3 separate regions of the Homo sapiens genome follow, and regions 2 and 3 are each linked to region 1. Evidence: promoter capture Hi-C in 16 types of primary human blood cells and fetal thymus (Javierre and others, 2016). All regions are on one chromosome and are shown on one strand. Each heading gives the region's core, a stretch centred on a gene start or on the middle of the fragment in contact. The rest is flanking DNA. Distances are from core to core; before and after follow the strand shown.

Region 1 (3,300 bases), core at 1-2,500:
GACGGCCCTTGCAACGCGGAACGTTGGCAACTTGAAAACATAACTGAATTATTAAATACTGCAGTATTCAAATGACCTGCAGCGAGTGAAAACTCAGCAAACACCCTTGTTCCTTCTGAACAATGACCTAAATAGTGAATCACTATAAAAAGAACAGATGACACATTCAATTCATCTGTTCAACCTCAAATGTGCAAATGTCTGACAGTCCCAGAGATAAGACACAATGAATTCAATAGGACAGTATGGTCATTTTAAGTCATCAGAATGTCTGCAAAAGGAGTAAGGAGAAACAGAATCAGACAGAGGCGGAAAGAGTGGGGGAGGGCTTGTTTAGGGAGACTGAAAAGGACGGGCGTTAAGCCTGTAAAGCAGAAAAAGGCTACCAAGAAGCCTAACTGGTAGAGGAGAAAAAGAAGTTCGGGGATGATATTGACCAAATCCTCGACACTGGCACAGGAGGCGGGGAGTCCGGCAAGACCAGCCTTTGTTGATTTCCCACTTTCCCCGATTTTTAAGCACAGGTCTGCTTCAAAGCTCTCCCGCTGCCCCTAACCAATTTTAAGAGGTGAGAAGCGGGGTGTAACTGGGTGATGGGTACCAAAGGGAGTTCATTTCCCCAAATATTTCCTCCACCCAGGATATAAACCACTCTGAGAGGTAGGATGGGTGAGACAGACAGACGCCGGGATCTCTCGGAAATCAATCCCAATGGAGAAACGCTGGGTGGGTGCGCGCGGTGGGGGAGGGGGCCGGCTCCAGTTCCAAGTGCGGCCACTTACGAAGACGCGCTGGGCACGAAGAAATCCACGGCGAAGCCGAAGTAACTTCCCTCGGGGCCAGAGTACTCGGCAGGACTGTCCACGTCTAGGTTGAAGGCGCGGCACAGAGGTAGCAGGAGTCCCGAGAGAAGAAGCGGGAGGCCGCGGGGACCGAGGCGCAGCCGTCGCCGCGGCGGAAAAGCCATCGCCGAAGTGCGCGCGGGACGCCAAGCCGGGAGCGGTAGCCACCTCCCCCCGCCCCAGCGAGGCGCCCAGTGCCCGCGGCCCGCCGCCTGCGCGCGCCCAAACTTGCCGGCCGCTCTCTTCTCGGCTAGCCCGGGACAGCTCCGGGGCAGGCAAGAGGGCTGAGCTTCGGAGCGACCGCCAGGGACGAGGGGCGCAGAGCGCGCGGGGCGGGGACAGCAGCGCAGACGGTCCTTTGCTTCCCTCCGGCTCCGCCGCTCCACGCAGCGTCTGAGGCTGGGGACTGCCGGGGTGAGCGCCGCACCTCAGGCCTGAGAGCCGCGGCGGCACTGGGAGGAGACCTGGAAGGAGGAGGAGCCGGCCCGGGAGGCTGCTGTGGAGCTGGAGGAGGAAGTGGGGGAGGAGAGGCGCCCTTCTACAGGGGAGAGCTCAGCGTACTTCCGTGAGTGCAGTCGCCGCCTGTCCCGAGACCTGGGCGTCTGTGCAGGGGCCCCCAGCTCCTGAGCCTGGGTCAGCGGCAGCGCTCCTGGACGAAGGCCTCAGGCTGAGCACCTGAGGAGGCGTGGGGGCGGGGGCGGGGAGATACGGTCCAGCGTCCCAATCTACCCGCGTCCACGGGAGTAGCAAGGGCACCCACGTTCCCTTGTCCCGCCGGGAACTTCCGTGCGACTGTTGTTTAAAAATGAGGAAAGCTTTTTATCAGTTTCTCGTGTTTCTGCTGCTTAGCCTGGCAGGCTCTCACGAACGAAACCCTGTTAATTAATGGTCGTTAATTACACTCCATTCCACAAACACTGAACTTAATTACGGATTTCCAGAAAGCCAGCATAGCCTCTTGCAAGTGAGGTATGTAAAGCTTAACTTAGTAGTCAAAGAAAGGATTCGCAGGGCAAAGAATTGGCAGTGATCGTTTTAAATCAAGTCAGAATAATCGAAGCCTTATTCCCAGTTTGTTAGCTGCGGTTGTATGATTTAGAAACACTGATTTGTTGATTTAGGATGTTTGGATAGACATAATTTCAGAGCTGGAAGAAGGACCGCACACCGGTGAAATAAGGCCCCGCGTGCTTGTTTGCCACTGGTGTGTTTCATCAAGCCTTGACAACACTGGACTGAGAGAGAGGGCCTTGAGGACAGGAACCTTGACCTTTTTCTTAGTGTTCTTATTTCTAGCACCTTGCCAAGCAGATAGTAGTCGATCAATAAAATGTCCAATCAGTGAATGAATAGCAGACGAAATGAGCAAAGTGCCCAGAGAAGTGACTCTTCCATATTTCAAGTGTTTCATGTGCTACAGAATCTGTTGAACAAGGTGAAGTTTAAGTGCATTGTGTGGACTTACAACTTACAAGTAAGTACTGGAACAGTAATTTCTGTTTTCCCAAAGTAACTATTAAAACTCAATCATAATATACATTAATAACTATCAAATAATCCTGTGAAAGGATATGTATATAAATGAAAGTGAAATGCCTAATTCGAATTTGTAATATTTATTGGACCAGGTCCAGGTGCTCATGCTGGCAATCTCAGCACTTTGGGAGACTGAGGCAGGAGGATTGCTTGAGACCGGGAGTTCCAGGGGAACATAGGGAGACCTCATCTCTACAAAAATTTAAAAATTAGCTGGGAGTGTGGTGCATGCCTGTAGTCCCAGCTATGCCGGAGGCTAAGGCAGGTAGATAGATCGCTTAGGCTCAGGAGTTCCAGGTTATGATAAGTCATGAGCCTGCCACTGCACTCCAGCCTGAGTGACAGAACAAGACCCTGTGTTTAAAAAAAAAAAAGGCCGGGCGAGGTGGCTCATGCCTGTAGTCCTAGCACTTTGGGAGGCTGAGGCCGGCAAATTGCCTGAGCTCGGGAGTTCGAGACCAGCCTGGGCAACACAGTGAAATCCCGTCTCTACTAAAATACAAAAAATTAGCCGGGCGTGGCGGCATGCGCCTGCAGTCCCAGCTACTCAGGAGGCTGAGGCAGGAGAATTGCTTGAACCCGGAAGGCGGAGGCTGCAGTAAGCTGAGATGGTGCCACTGCACTCCAGCCTGGGCCACAGAGTGAGACTCCATCTCAAAAAAAAAATGCATTAAATATTTCCATTTTTAAATTTGACTAAAAGATATGCAGCAAAACCTTTGGCATGTTTTACAAGGCATGGTCTAGCATCTGCCTGAAAGAAATTACTGATTGAGAGAAGAAATCCTACACAAATCCTTACACATAAATGCAAATACAGCTTATTTCTCACCTTCTTTCCTAATACACCAAAGAGGCTATTGATATGTATGCATAAACCCAAAGGGTCTTTTATATCTTAAAAACATGACAACCAGTCTAC
Region 2 (3,300 bases), core at 408-2,907, 960 kb before region 1:
TAGAAATAGAAGGGCTTTTAAAATTGTATTTTCATAACACCTTAAAAAACAAAAGATGAATATAAATTTAAAAATTTAAGGGCACAGAGCCTGTAACTTTTAGTTTGCCTAAATAAGATAAACATACATTTATTGTTTATTGTATCCCAGGAGCTATGTGATATGAGTACATAAGTGTTTATACAATGAAGAACATAAGATCACTGTTTCTAGAAAACAGTTATTTCATCTTATGTAAGAAGTTTATTGGTTCATTATTTTTTCTAAATAACAATAGCTATTCAGGAAGCTAATATCTCACTCTCTTCTATATTTTAGATGACAAATGAGCTCCACATGCTTAAAATCAATCAAGTGATCACTTGTTCAACAGGTACTTCCCACTTGCCAGACTATGAATGCTCAGGGTTATTTACCTAGAGTTTTAGCAGAAATTACAAATTGCTTTTCCTAATAGTTTCCTATCACAATTTCCTGTAATTGTCCTTCCTCCCCTGCTTCTTGGCTACATTCATATAAAGAAAGCTAGGTAAAGTAAATACAAATTACAACTTTCTCTTGTTGTGAAAGGAAGTTTCAGGTGGTTCCTGCTCAATTTTTTTACACCACTTGAGGCAAACAGATAATCCCAAATAAATGAAAACGTAGTAGACATAATTTATATTAGCACTGGAATTTGATGTTGTAGCTATGTGAACATTATTCAAGATCTTATATGTCTCATTTGAGTTATGTGGTTTTAATCTCGTTTAGCAAAGCTATTTAGTCAATGAAGAAAGGAAATCTGTACACATTAAAGAAATGATCTGGTGCTGATGTGAGTTTTCAAAAAAATTAAGCATTTTTAAAGAGATATCTGGGCTTTCCTTTTAGTGTAATAATTTTATTCTAATTCTAGACTTCCCAGAATTAACTTTCCTTAGTATGATTTTTTCTTAAGGAACAGCTGAAGAATGTGCCAAATGAGGAAAGATGTTTAATCTGGGGGAATTTGGACTAGCCTCAATTCCCATAACAAGAGAGATCTGTTTTTCTATATGTGGTGAGCTCTGGATAAAACTCTTTTCAAGGCTTTTTAAAGTTTGCAAATATTAATAAGAGCCCTCAAAAAAGCAAAAAATTTCTGAGGTGCCAATGTTTGCCATATAACTATTCTGTCAATATTACTCTCCCCACCACCACTTACCTGCATTCGATATTATCATCTAATACAGAGATAAGGAAGATACAAGTGACCATCTAGCTTCCCTAATAGGTGCTGGAAACCTCTTTTGTAAAAGACATGGGGAGACCATGGATGATCTCCAAGAATGTAAGTGAAAAAATATCTCTGCAAGTATATACTTGCACTTTAGAAGGGAGCTTATACCTTTTTTCCAGCTCTCTCAGAACCTTACACACCACCATGAAAGATATATTTGAGACCTACTTTAATATACAAGGATAACAGTATATAAAACTAGAATCAAAAAGTGCCAATCAATGATATATCCTGAAGAAGACAACACAAATATTTTAAAGACAGATAAAACTTCACATGGGGAGGAAGTTGGGGAGTGGGGAATTAAGATATTCTATGGATAAAGAAATCTCCAATAAAGAAGACTTTATATTTTTGAAAGCCAAGGAAGAGATTAAACAATTTTAAGATCTCTTTCTGTTCTATCATTATACTTGAATAAGCAGATTCAATTTTAATATCTTTATTAAAGAAAGATCTCTGGATCTTTCTTTCTGTATAACTCTGTCCTTTAATGTCTTTAAAGCTGAGCATTAACTATATATTTTTTATATATTAATCCTTTGAAAGATATGAAAAGTGTACCATGTGATAAATTTTAAATCACTTATAAAGTAATGAGGATTTGATGTAACTTCCAAAAATATCAAATCTCTGGTCACCATTCCCAGAAAATTACAATTGAATGAGTTAGGTAGGGCATTCAACAAGAAAATATCTGATTTCTGATGATATGATCATGTGTTGGGTAGGACTTTGATAAGAAAGAGATGAATGGCAATTTAGACTAACTTGTCTTTATAAAAATGTACAATAATGAGCATTAAATATGTGAATCAAAGAGTACTATTTATTGGATTCTGTGAATAAAGTGGCACCAATTACCTGTCATTCTCAGGACCCATAGTTCTCATCCTTCATGGGTTTTCTTCTGTTTGGATGGAAGTGACTGAAGATTAACTTCTTAATGGCTCCTGGGGGATCATGACTCAGCTGCCAGGACTTCTCGTTCCTTTAGAGTGATTCAGAGGAGTTGATCACGATGTCATCTGGGCAGATGGTTGTAGTCACCAACAGCTGTAGTTCCTCTCTTGAACCAAACTCAGACCCCTCCCAGATACTTGTCATTAGAAGCAATCATGAATTCTTAGCTTTTTCACATTAAGGCTTATTTTTATTACTAAAAATACTCTCCTTAATAGGAGTGAAAACACTGATCATTATTTGTCATGTTTATTGTACTTACAGATAAAAATTTTAGCTAATATTTGAAACTATAACATTTTTCTAATCAGGAAGTTTTCTAATTCATCATAAATCTGAAACCAAAAGGTTCTAGAAATCCAGTCTCAGGTATTATGAGTGTAGATTTTGCCCCCTTTTTCCCCTAAATATAATAAAGTAACATTTTTGTGAGAAATTCCCATACCTGGGTGAACATTTTGCTCTCCTTTTGCCATACCACAAGTTGAGATCATCAGAAGCAGAAAGTTGAGAAGTCTCCAATGTATTTGCCTAGGCAGAGATAAAATCTGATGGAAACAGGCCTTCAGGAGAAATGAAGAAACTGACTTGATCTTTTTAGCTATTAATCCTTAAAAATTTTTAAAAAGGTAATATCAACCTGAATTCCAGAACCTGTTAGGAAAGTCTCGTCTTTCCATGTATTTGCAAAGCACATGTACCTCCCACAAGATATCCCATTCATTATGAATTAATAGATTGATTTTAACTAACAAATTAATTCATTTACCAAGAGTTACATAGACAGGTAGGTAGATACACAATTAAAGGAGCAACTCTTCAGGAAACAGATGTTTTGGTCCTGAAATACCATTTGCTTATCTCACTCAATAACAGGTACCTAGAAGAGCAAATACAAAAAGCAGGTAAAATAGCCAAAAGTAGCCACAGGTTTCTCAATCTCTCTATATCATTCTCATTTTTAATATGTATGGTAATTATAATAGAGAAATACACATTTAATATATTATTCTTTTTTTTTCCTCTCATGCCAAAAATTCATTGTATTATCTTGCATTCGTTTTTTATTCCATTTC
Region 3 (3,300 bases), core at 453-2,952, 870 kb before region 1:
GCAAGGTTGCTATATGAAAGTTGAACATACGAAATTGAAATGGGAAAAGTTCCCAGATCCGGAAAGGGACATGTGATGGGGGAGGGGCTTGCTTCTTCAGTGCCCGGCTGCTCAAACCTCTAGGGGAGCATACAGACAAACAGTCCATGGGGCTCTAACCCCACGGCAGTGACTAGAGGTGGATGTTTACAGCTCCTGAAGCCCCAGTGGGCGTGTGTTACAGGGTGCTCTTTTAGTTTTGCCGTCTACAGGCTTGTGTTAACCAGCTCATAGACCCGCTTACTTACCACAAGGACGGAGGGATTTCTGTATCCCAGGGTTTCCTGCCGTGGTGTACCGGAAGAACCAGATCACGCGAGGGCTTGGAGAATGAGTCCGAGGTTTTACTGAGTAGAAGTAGTTCTCAGCAGATGGGGGAGCCAGATGGGAGATGCACCAGGGGTCCCTCTGCTTAGCGGCCCGTGCTCTCCTCCTCCTGATCTCGCTAAACTCCACATCGTTCCTCCAGTCAATGGCCTGCTGTCCTGCCAGTGTCTGTCATGTGCTCTTCCACTGGCATGCTCCCCTCGACATCCTCTCGATGTCCGGCTGCTTGTGTCTTCTTCCGCTGATCCCCTCCTCTGGACGTCCAGACGCTTGTGTATCTATCTGCCTGCTAGGGTCTCAGTTTTTATCCGCCCAGGATGGGGGTGTGGTGGGCCAGGGTGGTTTTGGAAAATGCAACATTTGGGCCCAAAGGCAGGAGTGCCTGTCCTCACCTAGGTTCGTGGGCACAAGCCAGAGGGTGAAGCCCTAGCCAGGAACCGGCCTTGCTCTACCCAGCACTTCCCTGTCCCCCGTTCGGTATCATTTAAAGGGACCATGCTCGTCCCTTCCCAGCACTCCTGTATCAAAATCAATAGCATTTCTGTACACTAGGAAAAATGTACTAGCCACAATAGAACAGAAACCCTAATTTGCCCAACAGTAAATCCCACAAAAGATGATTTTAAAAACTTTTAGATAAAAAAATCTTATATTGAAAATTCAAATATGTTATTGAAGTACATAAATGGAGCTAAATATTTTCCTGTTTGTTGTAACTTCTATAATTAGTATTCACAGAGAAATCAGCCAATGATAACACTAGGTTATAAGAAAGAAACTCTTGGTAATTAAAATGAAATAAATGGTTTTTTAAAATCAAGAAATAGAAGATAAAGTTAAAAAAAAAAATCTCTAAGCTTTGGAAAGAAGAGGTCATTAGGATGGAAAAGAAGATAGAAAAGATAAAATTTCGCAATTAGTTCAGGTGCCCTACCTTGAAGTGTCAAAAGGATCTGGAAAATAGCAGAGATAAATAGAGGGGAGAGACATCTTACAGAAAAAGAATAACAGAGATTCCCTTCACTGAAATGGTGTGTTGTACCCAACAAAGGGTAACCGCCTGACATACCCCCTCTGCACACACATGAAATTTCAAATTCTAGTAACGAAGAGAAAAGTCCTAAGAACAGGAGACTGTGGAGGGATAAGTCACATACAAAGAAATAGAAATAAAAAGGAATTGTATATTTCCATGACAGTAATGGAAGGAAGCCACAAGACAGTTGAATGTAGAAGTCTGAGGGATGGAGAATGGCTATTTACTTGCTAGAAGTCTGTTTGTACTAACTTATCTTTCAATTATGTGTGTGTAGTGCTTTGCTGAAAGATGGGAAAGAGGCTTTGGGAAAAAGTTTTAGAATATAAACTAAGAGATACTGTTTCTAGTACCAGTACTAACCTAGTGGATGAATTTTTTTGACCATCTAATTTCTCTGGCCCCATATTTACTTATATTTAGAATGAGTGTTTTGGACTAGACTGGTTATATAAACAAGTTTTTTGGTTTGGGTAATTTTAAGATTTTATGGCAATACTCTCTATTTAAAAGTATCTAATACCAACATATGTTAAGCCAAAAAAAAATGGAGAGATGTTCTGTGATTAAAAAATAAAAATCAACATTGGCCGGATTCTACTGTTAGCAATATCCATACCCCCCCCAGCATAAGGTTGTTATGTACAGTAGTCTTCTATATTCTTCAAAAATAGCCTATGCTGATGGAGCTTGACATCTTCAAACTGACTATACCTACAATTTCCTTTTCCAGTGCCTGATTAATTCCCAAACATCAAAAGATTTTATGAGAAGCTTCCAAGTAATTACCTTACAGGAGGTCCCACATACTGTGGGATTTTCTGAATGCCTTAATAATGGGTTTTATAATCAAAAAACATTTCTGAATCCATTAACTTTTTCTTTCTCAATATTATATATATCGTAGGGAAAATAATATATGTGGATCTGATTTATACTACTCATCAAGGCGTTTCAACCTCATGAGAAGTTTTGAAATAATTTTTAGACCGTTTTTGTCTCTTAAGTATTCTAAAAAAGCAAGCCAAATTTAATTAAGAATAATTAACTAGAATTAGATTTTTCTAGTACCAAAATGTTTTATCTCAATCAACAATTTATTCTAAGTTTTAGACAAATCCTAATTGTAGCCAAAATCAACTCATTCCTGTCAACATTGTTGATGATTTGCTATTCTTTTTCATTACAAGATAAAATCAGCCAACTCAATTATGAACTTGAATTTCTTTAGGGACTTAATCCATATTTAATCTGTATTTGCACAAGGGGCATAATTCTAATTTACTGAACTCTTTTTCTAAGCTGCAGGTGTTCTTAAATTAGAAGCCAGAGGAAACTGCTACTTCCTTCTTGTTAGTCAGTTTTTGGAATCAGAAAGCAAGAACTTTGACTTTCCAACAGTATTTTTTTTTAAAACATATTCCCCACTCTCAACAGAATGTTCCACAAAATTTGTAAGTCACTCTAGGGAAATTTCCAGAGTTTCAAGATGTGAACAGCTGTGAGCTACCTAAATGATCCATCTTGCCAAGAAATTGTTACTCCAGAGACGACGAAATAAACAATTACCATTTTTTATTGAAAGTTTCTGCCACTGTTCAATGAGAAAGTATTTAAAATTCTAAAGCTAATGACTGTATATGTTAGGAAACTTTATTTATCTCTTTACATATTCTTTATTAACTATTTTCTTTCTTCACAAGCTACACACACACACACACACACACACACACACACACACACATACAGAGTCATTTAATTAGGGAGAAAATATTTAAAACCACTGCATTCCACAGTTTCTCTCATCTCCACTGGTTGTTAATAAACTGGCAGATGCACATGAAGACTATTTTATGACTATAATGGGAGAAAAATCAAATACCAAATCAAATATGATG

The links. The method cuts DNA at HindIII sites, captures the fragments that hold promoters and counts their contacts. A CHiCAGO score of 5 or more calls a contact.
Region 2: a contact is called between a fragment that was not itself captured here and the fragment with the promoter of ITGAV in region 1, in 2 of 17 cell types (M0 macrophages and M1 macrophages). The highest score is 7.7, in M0 macrophages.
Region 3: a fragment that was not itself captured here is called in contact with the fragment with the promoter of ITGAV in region 1 in 1 of 17 cell types (monocytes); the score reaches 11.5 in monocytes.

Annotation. Positions count from the first base shown.
Region 1 is chr2:186,588,006-186,591,305 of GRCh38, reverse strand. It overlaps ITGAV (integrin subunit alpha V), which reads right to left and starts at 1,250. Exons shown (of 30, transcript NM_002210.5): 1 at 783-1,250. The coding sequence starts at 967. It overlaps LOC124906105 (a long non-coding RNA gene), which reads left to right and starts at 1,410. Exons shown (of 2, transcript XR_007087465.1): 1 at 1,410-2,316. RefSeq lists an enhancer at 768-827 and a silencer at 958-1,187. The HindIII fragment of the contact is 2,158 bases long and covers 1-1,659 here.
Region 2 is chr2:187,546,533-187,549,832 of GRCh38, reverse strand. All of the region lies in intron 1 of TFPI (tissue factor pathway inhibitor), which reads left to right. CALCRL-AS1 (CALCRL and TFPI antisense RNA 1) reads right to left here. Exons shown (of 6, transcript NR_187179.1): 4 at 2,994-3,104; 5 at 2,670-2,755; 6 at 2,308-2,350. Among named protein-coding and RNA genes, the nearest start is that of TFPI, 6.3 kb to the left of the region's middle. RefSeq lists an enhancer at 1,805-3,004. The HindIII fragment of the contact is 5,188 bases long and covers 1-3,300 here.
Region 3 is chr2:187,459,004-187,462,303 of GRCh38, reverse strand. The region is part of intron 2 of CALCRL-AS1 (CALCRL and TFPI antisense RNA 1); the gene reads right to left. Among named protein-coding and RNA genes, the nearest start is that of CALCRL, 12 kb to the right of the region's middle. RefSeq lists a silencer at 1,476-1,676. The HindIII fragment of the contact is 953 bases long and covers 1,226-2,178 here.